Regions from separate parts of the Homo sapiens genome. Here region 2 is linked to region 1. The links are contacts of gene promoters, found by promoter capture Hi-C in blood cells and fetal thymus (Javierre and others, 2016). All regions are on one chromosome and are shown on one strand. The core of a region is centred on a gene start or on the middle of the fragment in contact, and the rest is flanking DNA. Distances in the headings are between cores, read along the strand shown. Region 1 holds the start of ICAM4 (intercellular adhesion molecule 4 (Landsteiner-Wiener blood group)). Region 2 has its middle 4.8 kb from the start of OLFM2.

Evidence for each region. Contacts are between HindIII fragments. The CHiCAGO score rates a contact against its expected background, and 5 or more counts as called.
Region 2: a fragment that was not itself captured here is called in contact with the fragment with the promoter of ICAM4 in region 1 in 1 of 17 cell types (total B cells); the score reaches 7.0 in total B cells.

What each region holds. Positions count from the first base shown.
Region 1 is chr19:10,283,066-10,288,507 of GRCh38, forward strand. It overlaps ICAM4 (intercellular adhesion molecule 4 (Landsteiner-Wiener blood group)), which reads left to right and starts at 3,890. Exons shown (of 3, transcript NM_001544.5): 1 at 3,890-4,341; 2 at 4,471-4,773; 3 at 4,921-5,442. The coding sequence starts at 3,948. The coding sequence ends at 5,039. ICAM1 (intercellular adhesion molecule 1) reads left to right here. Exons shown (of 7, transcript NM_000201.3): 3 at 416-721; 4 at 968-1,255; 5 at 1,338-1,592; 6 at 1,718-1,963; 7 at 2,050-3,550. The coding sequence ends at 2,222. It overlaps ICAM4-AS1 (ICAM4 antisense RNA 1), which reads right to left. Exons shown (of 1, transcript NR_186335.1): 1 at 2,736-5,442. It overlaps LIMASI (lncRNA inflammatory and mucous response associated, antisense to ICAM1), which reads right to left and starts at 385. Exons shown (of 4, transcript XR_007067138.1): 1 at 256-385. RefSeq lists enhancers at 3,458-3,507, 3,562-4,531, 3,878-4,017. The HindIII fragment of the contact is 2,558 bases long and covers 3,535-5,442 here.
Region 2 is chr19:9,938,373-9,944,216 of GRCh38, forward strand. No RefSeq gene overlaps it. Among named protein-coding and RNA genes, the nearest start is that of OLFM2, 4.8 kb to the left of the region's middle. The HindIII fragment of the contact is 2,986 bases long and covers 410-3,395 here.

The sequences.
Region 1 (5,442 bases), core at 2,640-5,139:
TGGTGGTGTGTGCCTGTAATCTAAGCTACTCAGGAGGCTGAGGCAGGAGAATCCCCTGAATCCCAGAGGCAGAGGTTGCAGTGAGCCAAGATCGAGCCACTGTTTGCCCAGTCTAGTGCACTGGGCTGCTGAATTTATTTGACCAGACACCTAGCAATAGACTTTGAAGTTCTTTTCCACTTTTCACTCTAAGATGCTGCTGTCATGAATAAGGAATATTTTGATCCCCTTCACAAACACTCGGGGCCCTCTTACCAGTTTTCACTGAAGATCTTGACATTCCTATCTGCTTAGGTGTCTGGGCGTGTTTGGGGGAGATACTGAAGAGGTAGGGCTCCCAGGCAGGTGCAGTTCGTCTGTTAGGCAGGCAGCAAGGTCCACTTCACCAGACACCCCCACCTCTGTTTTCCTGCAGGGACTCCAGAACGGGTGGAACTGGCACCCCTCCCCTCTTGGCAGCCAGTGGGCAAGAACCTTACCCTACGCTGCCAGGTGGAGGGTGGGGCACCCCGGGCCAACCTCACCGTGGTGCTGCTCCGTGGGGAGAAGGAGCTGAAACGGGAGCCAGCTGTGGGGGAGCCCGCTGAGGTCACGACCACGGTGCTGGTGAGGAGAGATCACCATGGAGCCAATTTCTCGTGCCGCACTGAACTGGACCTGCGGCCCCAAGGGCTGGAGCTGTTTGAGAACACCTCGGCCCCCTACCAGCTCCAGACCTTTGGTGAGGATTGAAGAAGCCAGCAGGGAGAAGGTGGGGGTGGGGTATCCTGCAATGCGGTGCCTGTGGCCACAGGATCTTTTGAGATGGGTGTGGCCCCGGCTAAGGGGTGCATGTGTTCTAGGCGTATGTGACCTAGGCTGCTGAGTGGCCCTGGAAGAGGATCTCGCAGGAGGGGGAATGAAATGCCCCAGAGAAGGGCTTCGGGACGTCCATCCCTGTCTGCTCACACCTTTCTTCTCTCCCTAGTCCTGCCAGCGACTCCCCCACAACTTGTCAGCCCCCGGGTCCTAGAGGTGGACACGCAGGGGACCGTGGTCTGTTCCCTGGACGGGCTGTTCCCAGTCTCGGAGGCCCAGGTCCACCTGGCACTGGGGGACCAGAGGTTGAACCCCACAGTCACCTATGGCAACGACTCCTTCTCGGCCAAGGCCTCAGTCAGTGTGACCGCAGAGGACGAGGGCACCCAGCGGCTGACGTGTGCAGTAATACTGGGGAACCAGAGCCAGGAGACACTGCAGACAGTGACCATCTACAGTAAGAAGGGGCAGGGGCGGAGTGGGGCTTCTTGGGGGTGTGACCTGAACCCGGGGCGGGGCTCACTGTGTGCCTATTCCAGGCTTTCCGGCGCCCAACGTGATTCTGACGAAGCCAGAGGTCTCAGAAGGGACCGAGGTGACAGTGAAGTGTGAGGCCCACCCTAGAGCCAAGGTGACGCTGAATGGGGTTCCAGCCCAGCCACTGGGCCCGAGGGCCCAGCTCCTGCTGAAGGCCACCCCAGAGGACAACGGGCGCAGCTTCTCCTGCTCTGCAACCCTGGAGGTGGCCGGCCAGCTTATACACAAGAACCAGACCCGGGAGCTTCGTGTCCTGTGTGAGTGGGGCTGCTGGTCAATGGCCCCTATCCCCCAAGGCCCAATCTCCCTGAAGGTCCCATAAGGTCTTGCCTCCAAGTCCTGCCCCCACCCACCTCCATGTCATCTCATCGTGTTTTTCCAGATGGCCCCCGACTGGACGAGAGGGATTGTCCGGGAAACTGGACGTGGCCAGAAAATTCCCAGCAGACTCCAATGTGCCAGGCTTGGGGGAACCCATTGCCCGAGCTCAAGTGTCTAAAGGATGGCACTTTCCCACTGCCCATCGGGGAATCAGTGACTGTCACTCGAGATCTTGAGGGCACCTACCTCTGTCGGGCCAGGAGCACTCAAGGGGAGGTCACCCGCAAGGTGACCGTGAATGTGCTCTGTGAGTGAGCCGGCGGGCAGAGCTGGGTGGGGGCAGGGGCCATGGACCTAATGCAATCCTCACCGCCTGTTGTATCCTCCCCACAGCCCCCCGGTATGAGATTGTCATCATCACTGTGGTAGCAGCCGCAGTCATAATGGGCACTGCAGGCCTCAGCACGTACCTCTATAACCGCCAGCGGAAGATCAAGAAATACAGACTACAACAGGCCCAAAAAGGGACCCCCATGAAACCGAACACACAAGCCACGCCTCCCTGAACCTATCCCGGGACAGGGCCTCTTCCTCGGCCTTCCCATATTGGTGGCAGTGGTGCCACACTGAACAGAGTGGAAGACATATGCCATGCAGCTACACCTACCGGCCCTGGGACGCCGGAGGACAGGGCATTGTCCTCAGTCAGATACAACAGCATTTGGGGCCATGGTACCTGCACACCTAAAACACTAGGCCACGCATCTGATCTGTAGTCACATGACTAAGCCAAGAGGAAGGAGCAAGACTCAAGACATGATTGATGGATGTTAAAGTCTAGCCTGATGAGAGGGGAAGTGGTGGGGGAGACATAGCCCCACCATGAGGACATACAACTGGGAAATACTGAAACTTGCTGCCTATTGGGTATGCTGAGGCCCCACAGACTTACAGAAGAAGTGGCCCTCCATAGACATGTGTAGCATCAAAACACAAAGGCCCACACTTCCTGACGGATGCCAGCTTGGGCACTGCTGTCTACTGACCCCAACCCTTGATGATATGTATTTATTCATTTGTTATTTTACCAGCTATTTATTGAGTGTCTTTTATGTAGGCTAAATGAACATAGGTCTCTGGCCTCACGGAGCTCCCAGTCCTAATCACATTCAAGGTCACCAGGTACAGTTGTACAGGTTGTACACTGCAGGAGAGTGCCTGGCAAAAAGATCAAATGGGGCTGGGACTTCTCATTGGCCAACCTGCCTTTCCCCAGAAGGAGTGATTTTTCTATCGGCACAAAAGCACTATATGGACTGGTAATGGTTACAGGTTCAGAGATTACCCAGTGAGGCCTTATTCCTCCCTTCCCCCCAAAACTGACACCTTTGTTAGCCACCTCCCCACCCACATACATTTCTGCCAGTGTTCACAATGACACTCAGCGGTCATGTCTGGACATGAGTGCCCAGGGAATATGCCCAAGCTATGCCTTGTCCTCTTGTCCTGTTTGCATTTCACTGGGAGCTTGCACTATGCAGCTCCAGTTTCCTGCAGTGATCAGGGTCCTGCAAGCAGTGGGGAAGGGGGCCAAGGTATTGGAGGACTCCCTCCCAGCTTTGGAAGCCTCATCCGCGTGTGTGTGTGTGTGTATGTGTAGACAAGCTCTCGCTCTGTCACCCAGGCTGGAGTGCAGTGGTGCAATCATGGTTCACTGCAGTCTTGACCTTTTGGGCTCAAGTGATCCTCCCACCTCAGCCTCCTGAGTAGCTGGGACCATAGGCTCACAACACCACACCTGGCAAATTTGATTTTTTTTTTTTTTCCAGAGACGGGGTCTCGCAACATTGCCCAGACTTCCTTTGTGTTAGTTAATAAAGCTTTCTCAACTGCCTCAGCCTTGTGTGAGTTGAGGGGAGGTGTCACATCCAGCTGGAGTCCTTTCTAAGCAGCCACAGCCTGATCCTCCCACTTCCTCCCCCAAGAAAACATTGTGGGTTGATGGCCATACCCTGAGGTTCTGGTCCAAATCGGACTTTCTATGACCTTCTGGGTCTCTAGTGAAAACTAAAGACTCCTCTCCAGAAAAAAACATTTGGTTTCTAATGAGGCCTGGAATCTTATTCTTGACCTGGGGAGCGGAATCCCTTTTTGCAGTACTCCCGGGCCCTCTGTTGGGGCCTCCCCTTCCTCTCCAGGGTGGAGTCGAGGAGGCGGGGCTGCGGGCCTCCTTATCTCTAGAGCCGGCCCTGGCTCTCTGGCGCGGGGCCCCTTAGTCCGGGCTTTTTGCCATGGGGTCTCTGTTCCCTCTGTCGCTGCTGTTTTTTTTGGCGGCCGCCTACCCGGGAGTTGGGAGCGCGCTGGGACGCCGGACTAAGCGGGCGCAAAGCCCCAAGGGTAGCCCTCTCGCGCCCTCCGGGACCTCAGTGCCCTTCTGGGTGCGCATGAGCCCGGAGTTCGTGGCTGTGCAGCCGGGGAAGTCAGTGCAGCTCAATTGCAGCAACAGCTGTCCCCAGCCGCAGAATTCCAGCCTCCGCACCCCGCTGCGGCAAGGCAAGACGCTCAGAGGGCCGGGTTGGGTGTCTTACCAGCTGCTCGACGTGAGGGCCTGGAGCTCCCTCGCGCACTGCCTCGTGACCTGCGCAGGAAAAACACGCTGGGCCACCTCCAGGATCACCGCCTACAGTGAGGGACAGGGGCTCGGTCCCGGCTGGGGTGAGGGGAGGGGGCTGGAAGAGGTGGGGGAAGGGTAGTTGACAGTCGCTCTATAGGGAGCGCCCGCGGACCTCACTCAGAGGCTCCCCCTTGCCTTAGAACCGCCCCACAGCGTGATTTTGGAGCCTCCGGTCTTAAAGGGCAGGAAATACACTTTGCGCTGCCACGTGACGCAGGTGTTCCCGGTGGGCTACTTGGTGGTGACCCTGAGGCATGGAAGCCGGGTCATCTATTCCGAAAGCCTGGAGCGCTTCACCGGCCTGGATCTGGCCAACGTGACCTTGACCTACGAGTTTGCTGCTGGACCCCGCGACTTCTGGCAGCCCGTGATCTGCCACGCGCGCCTCAATCTCGACGGCCTGGTGGTCCGCAACAGCTCGGCACCCATTACACTGATGCTCGGTGAGGCACCCCTGTAACCCTGGGGACTAGGAGGAAGGGGGCAGAGAGAGTTATGACCCCGAGAGGGCGCACAGACCAAGCGTGAGCTCCACGCGGGTCGACAGACCTCCCTGTGTTCCGTTCCTAATTCTCGCCTTCTGCTCCCAGCTTGGAGCCCCGCGCCCACAGCTTTGGCCTCCGGTTCCATCGCTGCCCTTGTAGGGATCCTCCTCACTGTGGGCGCTGCGTACCTATGCAAGTGCCTAGCTATGAAGTCCCAGGCGTAAAGGGGGATGTTCTATGCCGGCTGAGCGAGAAAAAGAGGAATATGAAACAATCTGGGGAAATGGCCATACATGGTGGCTGACGCCTGTAATCCCAGCACTTTGGGAGGCCGAGGCAGGAGAATCGCTTGAGCCCAGGAGTTCGAGACCAGCCTGGACAACATAGTGAGACCCCGTCTATGCAAAAAATACACAAATTAGCCTGGTGTGGTGGCCCGCACCTGTGGTCCCAGCTACCCGGGAGGCTGAGTTGGGAGGATCCTTTGAGCCCTGAAAGTCGAGGTTGCAGTGAGCCTTGATCGTGCCACTGCACTCCAGCCTGGGGGACAGAGCACGACCCTGTCTCCAAAAATAAAATAAAAATAAAAATAAATATTGGCGGGGGAACCCTCTGGAATCAATAAAG
Region 2 (5,844 bases), core at 653-3,152, 350 kb before region 1:
TATTCATGAAAACTGGAAAAAGGTGGACTGTGGTGCCACCCACTTTTACACCAAATTTGGGTGTCCCTGGAATTGTCAAGGGCGCTGGTGGGTGGGTAATTTTAGTATTTTAATGAGTACATAATGAGATCCTAGGTGAAACCTAGGTAGAATGTAACGCCATGTTGGGTCCAGTAGGTCTTAGCCAGCTTGGTCCACACCCTGGTTTTCAGGATCTTATCAGCCCATAGCCTCTAGTCATGTGAAACGGCTGCCTGTGACCACCCTGGATCATTCCTGTCTCAACCCTACTGGGGATAAAACATGTCGATGATGGTTTTGTCAGGTCAATGAGAAAGAGCTTGGTGACCCACAGATCTGGGTTCAACCCTGGTGCTGCCACTTCTTGGCCATGTGACCTTAGGGAAAAAGCTTTCCCCCTCTTAGAAGACCTGTTTTTTGCAGTTATTGGGAGACATCTGTGACTCTAAGCAAAGAGAGCACCTAGCTAGCACTCACTCCCCAGCACGCCTTGCAATAACCAACCATGCACTGGGTTGAGGACACTCATCATGGGATGTGGACACAAAATAGAGTCTGAGCCTGCGAAGACATCCTGTTTATTCTTCTATCTCTTTTTTTTTTTTTTTTTTTTGAGATGGAGTCTCACACTGTCACACCCAGGCTGGAGTGCAGTGGCTTGATCTCGGCTTACAACCTCTGCCTTCCGGGTTCAAGGAATTCTCCCGCCTCGGCCTTCCAAGTAGCTGGGATTGCAGGTGCCTGCCACCAGGCCTGTCTAATTTTTCATATTTTTAGTAGAGATGGGGTTTCACCATATTGGCCAGGCTGGTCATGAACTCTTGACCTCAGGTGATCCACCTGCCTCAGCCTCCCAAAGTGCTGGGATTACAGGCATGAGCCACCGCACCCATCCTATTCTTCTATCTCCTTTTCCCAAATGGGAGACAGTCCTTTGTGGGCCCTTCAGGCCAAGCCTGCAGTTGGCATTGCATAAAAGGAGGACATTGGTTGGTAGGACCCACAAGCTCTTGACCAAGAGTGGGTCTCACGGTCAAGAGTCAGCACTCTTGACTCATGAATGCTGCATTTCAGGACCATGAACAGTGTCCTCCTTGGGCTCTGGTCACTAAGACGATCACAGTTACAACTAAGCTACAGCCTGTGTTATATGGTTGGAATTTGGTCGATATGCACTTAGATCTATTCCCCACTTTCCCCCTGCTCCCCTCTGTATCAGGGCAATGGCTCCTGCAAATTATCTTTCTCAGGTTCTCTACACACTACATTTCCCAGGCTTCTTTGCATCTGGTTAGGCTCAGCCAATGGGAGGTCTACAGGCAGATTGGAGGGTGCCAAGAAAGGAGAAGCCAGAGAATTTCCCCCCCTCCACTTTGAGTGTCTCTAGCCATGGCTGCTGTGCCTCCTCTGTGGTCTCAGTCCCATTAGGTATTCCCCACCATGGTGGGGGGTGGGGGCAGGTGACTGGCCAGGTAACTGCAGCTCCTGGATTCAGGTAACTACCACCTCCCTTTGTTGTTTCAGTCCTTGCAAAGATGATAGCTAGCAACTAGAGTTGATTCACCTGCTCCAGTTTGCGCTTAAAACCAACCTAATAGGGCCAGGTGCGGTGGCTCATACCTGTAATCCCAGCACTTTGGGAGGCTGAAGTGGGTGGATCACCTGAGGTCAGGTGTTTGAGACCAGCCTGCCCAACAAGGCAAAATGCTGTCTCTACTAAAAATACAAAAAATTAGCCAGGCATGGTAGCAGGTGTCTGTAATGCCAGCTACTGAGGAGGCTGAGGCAGAAGAATCGCTTGAACCCAGGAGGTAGAGATTGCAGTGAGCTGAGATCATGCCATTGCACTCCAGCCTGGGCAACAATAGTGAAACTCTGTCTCAAAAAAGAAAAAAACAAAAACAAAACCTACCTATCGGCTGAGTGCCATGGCTAACACTTCTAATCCCAACACTTTGGGAGGCTGAGGCAGGTGGATTGTTTGAGCCAAGGAGTTCAAGACCAGCCTGGCCAACATCTCTGTAGAGATGCTGCATCTCTACCAAAAATACAAAAATGAGCCAGGCATGGTGGTGCACACCTGTAGTCTCAGCTACTCAGGAGGCTGAGGTGGGACGATCATCTGAGCCTGAGAAGGTCGAGACTGCAGTGAGCTATGATTACTCCACTGCACTCCAGCCTGGGCAACAGAGTGAGACCCTGTCTCAAAAAACCCCACAAAAGCAAACAAACAAACAAACCTACCTACCTAATACCTCAGTGTGTGGCTAATTAAAGTCCCCATATTAAATTCTTTCTATTGAATTTGCTGGGATGGGCTGTTTTTCTGACTGGACCTTAGTCAATGCATTCGATGCCGTTGGTCGTTGACTGGTATGGTTAGTGGCCCTCTGGGTGTCCTGATGGCATTGTGGTTTGTGTCCTGTTGAACCGGGATCTGTGCTGCCGTCAACATCCTGGTTCTGCCAGGGTCAGCATTGTGGTCAGAATTGTGGTCACTCCTGGTCATTCTTGGTTGTGTTGTGGTCAGTGTGGTGATTAGTACTACAGTCAGTTTCCTGGTTATGCTGTGCTCTGTCCTAGTGCTATGGTCCTTGTCCTGAGCTTGCTGTGGATAATGACCTGGCCAAGCTATGGTCAAAATTATGATTGAGTCATACTAAGGTCAAAGTCACACTCAGCATCCTAGTTGCACTGATATCAGCTTCAAGGTCAGCACTGTGGTTAATGTTAAGAAGAGTGCACTGTCTATGGTGCAGTGGTCAGAATTGTGGGCCATCATTGAAGAGACATCAGGATCCGCTTCTCAAGGATCTATTGTGGCAAAATGGATGAACTGGGGACTCAGGGTCTGGCACTGGGCACAGGTCATTCTCCATGACAGGAAGCAGGGAGGCAGGGCGTTGGATCTTGCCATCTGGCCATTGGGTTTTTCTAATTGGCACTTGGACAGCCAATTAGACAGGAACTTGGACAGCCATGGGTTCCTGTCACCCTCTCACAGCCCACATCTGTTTCCTCACACCCTGCACCACCCACTTCATAGAGAAAATGATCATGAAGTGAATGCCTGCCAACACATACCTTTGCTCTTGCTAATCCCTGAATATATTATTTAGAGGTCCTTTGGTAGAATTTAGCAGAAACTCAACTTGAACTGGATTAAGAAAAAAAATCTATTGGCTCATATAACTTAAACAAAAATGAGGGTAGTGGAATTCAGTCATGGCTGGATCCAGGGTTTCTGTTATATCATCAGGATTCTGTCTCTCTCCATTCCTCATCTCTCATTTCTCATCTCTCATTTCTCATTCCATGCTGTCTTTTGGGAAGGATTCACTTTTAGCCAAGAGATGACAAAGATGGTTTCCAGAAGCTTCTCTCTTCCAAGCTCAGCAGCATCAGCAAAAAGAGAGCTTGCAAAATAATGTCTCATTATGCATCCCAAGTTGTGTGCCCATCCTGAACCAATTATGTATTCAGAGGAATTCATTATTTGGCTTGGCTAGGTCTGGCTCATAGATCACCCCCACGGAGCCAGAGAGTGCAGTTAGCCTTATTCAACCTACATTGGATAGGAAGTGGGAGGTAGAGAAGGATATAGAATGTTGACCACTAAAAGAGAGAAAGGACACTGTACAAGCAAAACCAAAATATATGGTTTTGGGCAGGGGGTGGTTCTTGGCATCATTTCAACCCCCTAGTATGCATTCCTTATTATAGAGCCTGCAAAGCGAAAATACTTCCAGACTCCCTTGCAGCTAAACTTCTGTAGGCCAATTAGGTTTCATCCATTAGAAGCATGAGAAGTGGGTGGTGGAAGAAGGTGGAATTAATCTTCCTGTTATGCTGGTAGAGGCAGCTGCTAAGCACAATTGGGAGACACTGGATTTTCCTGCAGGAATGTTCCTGTTTCCAATTGTGAGAACAACCCGTTTTTGTTGAGAGTCCATTGCAGTAACAATGATGACTGCCTCCGTATCTCTGAATTGCAACTTTCCTGGTGTTTTCATTGTTTTGTTGTTCCTGTTGCTGTTGTTGTTGTTGTTGTTTTTGAGATAGAGTCTCGCTGTGTCACCCAGGCTGGAGTGAAGTGATGGGATCTTGGCTCACTGCAACCTCCACCTCCCAGACTCAAGCAATCCTTCCACCTCAGTCCATCCCAGTAAATGGGACTGCAGTTGCATGCCACCACACCTTGCTAATTTTCTGTATTTTCTGTAGAGATGGAGTCTCTCCATTTGCCTAGGCTTGTCTCAAACTCCTGGGCTCAAGGGATCCACCCGCATTGGCCTCCCAAAGTGCTAGGATTACAGGCGTGAGTCACCACGCCCAGCCATGCTGTTCCTTTTTATGGTTCAATAATATTCCATTGTGTGGATATCCCATATTTTGTTCATTAATTATGGTGATGTAGTCTTAAAGTCAAAAATCCCCACTCTAGGGGATAATTCTCCACCTCCCTGCTAATAATAGAGGCAGAAGCTCCTGCTTGGGTGAGTTGGGAGGTGATGGTTTTTGTTTTGTTTTTGTTTTTGTTTTGAGATGGAGCCTCGCTCTGTTGCCCAGGCTGGAGTGCAGTGGTACAATCTCAGCTCACTGCAACCTCCACCTCCTGGATTCAAGCAATTCTCCTGCTTCAGCCTCCAGAGTAACTGGGATTACAGGCACATGCCATCACGCCCAGCTAGTTTTTTGTATTTTTAGTAGAGACAGGGTTTCACTATGTTGGCCAGGCTGGTCTTGAACTCCTGACCTCAAGTGATGTGCCTTCCTTGGCCTCCCAAAGGGATAGGATTACAGGGGTGAGCCATTGCTCCCAGCCGGGAGGTGGTGTTTTGTAGCAAGTCATTCTATCGGCTTTCCCTAGATCCCTATTCTCCAGCCTTGGTTCTGTAAGCACCAAGTTCCCTGGTTTTGGTTCTCATTTCCTGCAACTAAACCGTGATTGATATGTGCTTGGAAGATTCATTCCCTTTATCTGTCTGAAGAGAACCTCATAATTCACGAAGCCCCAATACTCCAAGCTATTCATGACCTACCTACTCAGTACTCCCTCCTGGACCATGCTGGAAACATCTCTTTAACAGGAACCTTCCTGACTCACTGAGCTCCAGTGAAGCACCCACCACTGGGATACATCCTCTCCATACATTAATTCCTTGAGTTCTTACAACAACCCTGTAGGGTAGGCACTGTTATCCCCCATTTAAAAATGCAGGCCAGGTGCAGCAGCTCATACCTATAATCCCAGCACTTTGGGAGGCAGAGGACTGCAGATCACTTGAGCCCAGGAGTTTGAGACCAGCCTGGCAACATGGCAAAACCCCATCTCTACAACAAATACAAAAAGTAGCTAGGCATGGTGGCTTGCGCCTGTAGTACTAGCTACTTGGAAGGCTGAGGAGGGAAGATCGTTTGAGCCCAGGAGGTCGAGGCTGCAGTGAGCTGCAATTGCACCACTGCCCTCCAGCCTGGGTGACAGAGCGAGACCCTGTCTCTAATAAATAAATAAATGAAAACTTTGAGGCTCAGAGAGGTTAAGTAATTTGCCCGAGGTCACCCAGCTATAAAGGGCAGACACAGGATTCAGACTCAGTTCCATCTGACTCAAAGCCAACCTATTGACCGGGTGCAGTGGCTGGCACCTGTATTCCCAGCACTTTAGGAGACCAAGGTGGGAGGATCACTTGAGCCCAGGAGTTCTAGGCTGCAGTGACCTGTGATGGTGCCACTGTACTCCAGCCTGGGTGACAGAGTAAGACCTTGTCTCTTTTCTTTTTTTCAAAAAAAGAAAAAAAAAAAGGAAGTAGTTGGGGTCTC